Regions from separate parts of the Homo sapiens genome. Here region 1 is linked to region 2. Evidence: promoter capture Hi-C in 16 types of primary human blood cells and fetal thymus (Javierre and others, 2016). All regions are on one chromosome and are shown on one strand. Each heading gives the region's core, a stretch centred on a gene start or on the middle of the fragment in contact. The rest is flanking DNA. Distances are from core to core; before and after follow the strand shown.

Region 1 (3,119 bases), core at 1-2,500, 160 kb after region 2:
CTACATGCTTCGGCCTTCCCCCCAAAGACACCTGGCTTATGCTTGCCAGTGCCGACTGACTCACTGGCACCCCAGGCCTGGGGCCTGATCCCAGGAGCACACCCTACAGGCCCAGCGCTGGGGGCTTGGGCTCTGCTGCACAGCGATGATGCCAAATTGCTGTGTGACCTCGGGCAAGTCACTTCTCCCCGCTGCACCTCAGTTTCGTCATATGGAAGACAAGCGGACCCACCTCCCAGGGTTGTTTGCAGAGATTAAACGGAGGCGTGCCAAGCACAGTGCCGGGTATGGAGGGGGAGCTCAGGAGAGCTGCCACGTGAGCTGGGGAAGCCAACGACATGATACATCTGGCTCCCTCCAGCCCTGACAGCCTGCGATTCTGTGATTCCGAGATCCTAGAATCATGGCACGAGATTCTGAGACTAACGCCCCTGCCCCTGCAGCCGACCGGGAGGTCACAGGAAGGCCTCCCTCCTGCCTCCCTGGGAGTCCCCACCCTCTGCCTCCCCAGCCCCAGCCTCCCAAGTTCATCCTGGGCAGAGGATGGGCTTCCAGGACCCCACCCTTCGGGACATCATCCGGGCCCCAGCCTCCTTACCTGCCCATGGGGTGAGGGCTTCCCTCCTTGCCGCCAGGCTGGTTATCATTCTGCTGTCCCCTCTCCCTGCCCAGTCCCCAGGTGCCCCCAGGGCACTCCTAACTAGGGTCCCCACAAGGCACCCACTTCTAGACCGCTTGCGGGCTCAGGTTCCCTCCCAGGCCCTCGGCCACGGCTGTCCACAGAGCCTCTCCCATCTGGTCTCCGGCCCTGACTTCCCAACCAGAGCCTGGTACGTCACCCCCCATCTCCAGGACACATCCTGGGGGGGCAGGGGCAAGGATAGGGGGGAGAAGCTTCCCAGGGTGAGGAAGAGAAGAGGGGAGCAAGGGACACAGAAGCCAATAGAAATAGAGGGGAAAGGGGGTCGGGAGGAGGTGGAGAAAGAGAGAGAGAGAGAAAGAGGGAGGGGGAGAGAGAGAGAGGGAGAGGGAGAGGAGACCGTGAGTAGGAGGAAAGGCAGAATGAGGGGGAGTGATGAGAGATGCGTGACAGGGAGAAGACGAGAAGGAAAGAGAGGAGAGGAGACACGGGTGAGAGGGAGAGATGCAGAGAGAGGCAGGAGGGAGGAAGGAGAATGAGGGGGTGGCAGGGAGAGTGACAGAGAGGGACTGTGCCACAGATGGTGACATGGAGCCCGTGAAGGAGGGAGTAAGCAGGGAGGGGCTGAGGGCCGGAGAGCAGGTGTGGGGGGTGGGGGCGGGGTGCAGGTTAAGGGAGGAGGCCCGGAGAGGGAGCAGGAGGGGCGCAGACCCTGTTACCGGGGAGATTTCAGCCACCCACGCCCGCTGGCCTTGGCTCCTGCAGGGAGTTGGAGAGAAGAATGTGCTCAGTGCTCAGGGGAGCCGAGGCTGCCAGCCAGTAGCCAGAGCAGCTCGTGAGGCCACTGCGGCACAGGTCCCCCGGGGCAGCAGCTGTGTCCCAAGGCAAGGCTGGGTGTGGGGCTGGCCAGCCCGGGAGTCCACAGTCCAGCCCTGCAGTCGGGCACACCGGCCGCAGCACGGACCACTGGGGAGGCCGGGTGGGGGTCATTAGTCCTGGGATTGGTTACATCTGGAGAGCCCCAGGCAGGGTGAGGAGTGGAAGGACAGAACAGAGAACCAATATTTTAGGCTTTGAGGGCAAAATCATTGTGCAGTGAGAAAACAGATTTTTACTATTTTGTAACTGACAAAACTCAAAATAGAATAATAATAATTGAGGCCAGTATTTTGTAATGTAGGTCCACTCATGAGAAGAATAGAGTTCTTTTTACAGACATCACCTTTTGCTTAATTGGAGTTTAGAGTTAGTGTTTCATCAAACCGATTGCAAATGTTCATCCGTAAAAACCATTCTCAGCTCCTAGGCTGTACAAAAACAGGCAGTGGGTGGGATTTGCCCCGTGGGCCATATTTACTGATCTTTGGTCTAAGAGACTCTGCCGTACAGTCCTGAGCACAGGCCCAGATGTCTTGGGATGCCGTGCCCCTGCCTGTGCTGATTCCTGCCTCAGCACAGGAGTGATAAGGAAAGGAACAGTCAGAGACGGAAGGGAAAAGGACACACGTCTTGGCTGAGCACCTACTATGTGCCAGGCTGTACCTAGGCTGCTTTCCAAACTGGGCCATTCCCTGGGACCAGGGCTGGACCTCCTTTGTCACTAGGTACCTGGCACTGCAGAGAACTGGAAGTTGAATGCATCCAGAGGTGCCACCATGCATGCGGCAGCACACAGTAGGACACACCCACTTCCAGCCGGAGCCGGCCTGGTCTCTTAACGCTGCCCGTCCCTTTGCCTTGTGCCCGGGACAAGGCCCTTGCTCCAGGTCTCAGCCTCCCATTGTCCTTGTCCGTACAAGTTCATGAGGTGTGGGTGGGCTCCTGGGAGCGTGTCCTCAGGGTCAAGGGTGGGTTTTCCATGGCACTGACCACCCACCCCTACCCACGGCTTCTCACTGCCCTCAGAATAAAGCTCTCTCGCCGCAGCCCACCTGGCACTGCATCCTTGATTCCTGCCGCCTGCGCGGGCCTCCTCCTCTGCTGATTTCACTCGCTCCTCTGTGCCCCAGGCGTACCCAGCCTCATGTATTCATTCACTTATTCCTGCAGGTTGGGGTATAGGGGCTGAAGACTGGACAGGGGAGTTTGAGCCCCAGCTCTACCCCTGCCGTGCACTGAACTTAAACTTCGGTTTTCTCCTTCAGTAGATTGTACACACCTGACTGCCTGGCCTGGGGGTTCTTGCGAAGGTTAAAGGAGTGAATGCTCATCAGTGTGCCCCCTGCCACACACCTCCCCAGCACCGAGCCTTACTGCTCCAGCCTGGAACCCGTCCACTGCTCTCCATCCACAGGCTCCCGTCTGAGCCAGGCCACTGAAGGGGTTCAGGACACGCCACCCCAGAATACACCACTCTGGCATATTGATTTCTCTGCACTAAAGGCACTTCAGAAACAGCAGGTGCAGAAAGGGGGCTCTGACCTCCCCTTTTCTTCCTGAAAGCAGGAGCTAAAACGCCTTGTGAAAGACGCCCTCCCTA
Region 2 (3,140 bases), core at 438-2,937:
CCTGGCCAACGTGGTGAAACCCTATCTCTACTAAAAATACAAAAATTAGCCAGGCGTGGTGGTGCATGCCTGTCATCCCAGCTACTCAGGAGGCTGAGGCATGAGAATTGCTTGAACCCAGAAGGCAGAGGTTGCAGTGAGCTGAGATGGTGCCACTGCACTCCAGTCTGGGTGAGAGAGTGAGACTGTATCTCAAAAAAGAAAAAGAGAGAGAGAGAGAGAGAGAGAGAGAGAGAGAGAGAGATAGGGGTCTCACTATGCTGTCCAGGCTGGTCTTGAACTTCTATGCTCAAGCGAGCCTTGGCCTCCCAAAGTGCTGGGATTACAGGTGTGAGCCACCGCACCCAGCCTACGCTAGATGTTTATAGACATTTCATAACTTAATCTTCACAGCAATGCTCTGGGGTCACAACTGTTGTAAATCCCATTTGGCAAGAGAGAAAGCCAATCTCAGAGAGGAAGTTGCTCAGGACACACCTAGTGAATTTTAAGTAGCAGGATTCCAGTACACCTTTGATCCACTCCCTGCCAAGGAGAAAAGCTTTATGCAGAAAGCAGGGCATTGGGTGGTAACAGGGAAACTTCTCCCAGCACAGGGCCAGGCTGCCCAGTGTTCGGGCCAGCTGCGTGTGACATTGGATCAGTGAGAGGAGCCCCAGACCTCTCCCCCATAGGCCAGGACCAGGACTGAAACCAGTAAGGAGAGGAAGCTAAGGAGACAGCTTCCTCGTCAGCCCTTGTCCCTCCCTGGTCCCGGACCACATGAGGAACTGCTCCCTTCCCCCATCCTGAGGTCCACAGAATGACGGTTCCCCTCCGAGTTAACTGGGGAATAACTCAGAAAGCCACCCGCAGAACCAATCCCTCCTCCTTCTTAGGGAGGACGTGGAAAAACTGAGAAAGGCCAAAAGCCAGAATGGAAACTCAGTTCTCCTGACTCGGATCCAGGGCGTGCTCTACTCTTCCTCCTTAGAAGTCTTTCCCAAGGATCCCTGACATTCCATGGTCAGGGAGCAGGAAAGAGACCTTGGTGGGTACTCACTCACCAGCAATGTGAGTAGGGCGGTCACTTCGCTTCTGTGGCTTCATCTGTAAAATGGGTATAGCCCAAAATACCAGACTCACAGGGCTGCTGAGAGCTTAAATTCATAACACATATACACAAAGTGTCTGGCATACAGGTGCTCAGCCAACCTCAAGTCCAGCTATGTCGTTCTCCAAGAACTCAGGTGAGGGAAAGAACCCACTCCCACCCACCCCGCCCCCACCCCTATACACACAAAGGGCAAATGAAAAAATATGACGAAACACATGCGGGTCAATGCTATGGGGATTCCTGGAGGGGAAAGTTTCTTCCCTTATCAGCTGTTGGACGACGGAGACGGCACAAAGGAAAAACAAGAATGCTCGGACCCATGGGATGACTGCAGATTTGGGGAAGCCCTCATTCTTTTCCCAGAGGCCGGGAGTTCGACCTTCCCCATACACAGTGATTTGGCCAGAGGGCATCTTCACCACCCCAGACTGCGGGCCTGCGGGGAAGGGCGAAGCGGGGCGGGACCGGGGGCGGGAGCAGCGCGGGGCGGGACCCTACCCGCGGCCCACGCGGAGCCAGGAGGCGCGGACTACAGCTCCCGGCCTGCCCCGCGTGCGGTCCCCGCCCGCCCCCAGCGCCCGGGAGGAGGATGCAGACGCCGCGGCCGGCGATGAGGATGGAGGCCGGGGAGGCAGCGCCGCCGGCGGGGGCGGGCGGCCGCGCCGCAGGCGGCTGGGGCAAGTGGGTGCGGCTCAACGTGGGGGGCACGGTGTTCCTGACCACCCGGCAGACGCTGTGCCGCGAGCAGAAGTCCTTCCTCAGCCGCCTGTGCCAGGGGGAAGAGCTGCAGTCGGACCGGGTGAGGCCCCCGGGGTGGGCGGCGAGCGGGCGGTGGGTCCTCCGCTCGCCCGACGCGGGGCTGTCGGGCCTGGCTCGCCCGCCAGGCTGGGGACCCGGCCGGGTTCATTTCCGAGGAACTGGAGGCGGGAAGAAGCGGCAGGAGGAGGGGAGGGGGAGGTGGGTCTGGTAGTGAGGGATGTACCCATTGCCGTGGCAACGGGACGACGCAGGCCGCGGCCATTAGAAGCTCTCCAGCCGCCCCGGATCGGGGCCTCTCCTTCTCCTTTGGGGCTGTGGACAGGGAGAGACCTGGGACCTTTCCTCCCTCCCAAAGGGGACTCCTGCTCTGGGGAAGGAGTCGACGAGGCTACTTCTCCCGCTCTTTGGGATGTGGGTGGCGGAGGGGTGCAGGGAGCTAGCTGGATGGAGGAGCCCTGGGGCGCCTTCTGAGCGGGCTGAATCTAGAAGGAGCGTTGGCCCAGCGGGCACTATTTCTGAGCACCCACCCTGACTCTGCTGCACACTGCCTGCCGCGACCTTGAGTCGGACCCTTCCCTGCACTGCGCTCAGCCTCCTTCCTCATCTGTAACACGAAGGGCTGGTCTGAAGATGACCTCTAAGGTCTCCTGTCCCCCATCCGTGACCCTCCGATGCTGTGGCCTTTGGCAAGTCGCCTCACCTCTCAATGTCTCCGATCTCTCTGTAGAGTCGCATGGAAGCCCACCCTGCCTCCCTGCCCGCCCGAGTGTCCAGTGAGATAGTGACTCCTTTGGAAACTTGTAAACATCCCCTGAAAGCCTAGGGACCTGGGGGCGACAGTGGGGCTGGCTTCAGGGGACAGCCTCTCAGAGGGACATTCTTCGAGCCCTGTGCTGGGCCAGTTGCCACTCAGACATCCTCTCACCGGATGCTCACAGCAAACCCTGATTAGGGGGAGAGGAGTGAGTTTCAAAGAGGCCAAATCATTAGCCTAAGGTCACACATTCAGGAAGAGTCAGAAGCAGGGCTTGAACTCAGGTCCATCTGACCCCAGTGCCTTTTTGCTACTTTGTGCCTGCTCCATCCAGGGAAGAGCTCTCCCTCCACTCTCCTTCCCTCCCTGTGCGTGTGCGGGGTTGGCTGGGGAGAAGCCTCACTCTTCTCTCACCGAGCATCCCTCACCTCCATAGGATGAGACCGGGGCCTACCTCATTGACCGTGACCCCACCTACTTCGGGCCCATCCTGAACTTCCTCCGGCATGGCAAGCTGGTGCTGGACAAGGA

The links. The method cuts DNA at HindIII sites, captures the fragments that hold promoters and counts their contacts. A CHiCAGO score of 5 or more calls a contact.
Region 1: the fragment with the promoter of SSTR3 here is called in contact with the fragment with the promoter of KCTD17 in region 2 in 2 of 17 cell types (total CD8 T cells and activated CD4 T cells); the score reaches 6.1 in total CD8 T cells.

Annotation. Positions count from the first base shown.
Region 1 is chr22:37,211,227-37,214,345 of GRCh38, forward strand. It overlaps SSTR3 (somatostatin receptor 3), which reads right to left and starts at 1,251. Exons shown (of 2, transcript NM_001051.5): 1 at 599-1,251. RefSeq lists an enhancer at 90-1,069. The HindIII fragment of the contact is 10,151 bases long and covers 893-3,119 here.
Region 2 is chr22:37,050,055-37,053,194 of GRCh38, forward strand. KCTD17 (potassium channel tetramerization domain containing 17) reads left to right here and starts at 1,688. Exons shown (of 9, transcript NM_001282684.2): 1 at 1,688-1,895; 2 at 3,046-3,140. The coding sequence starts at 1,707. RefSeq lists silencers at 1,480-1,789, 1,800-1,919 and enhancers at 1,856-2,573, 2,574-3,140. The HindIII fragment of the contact is 2,809 bases long and covers 540-3,140 here.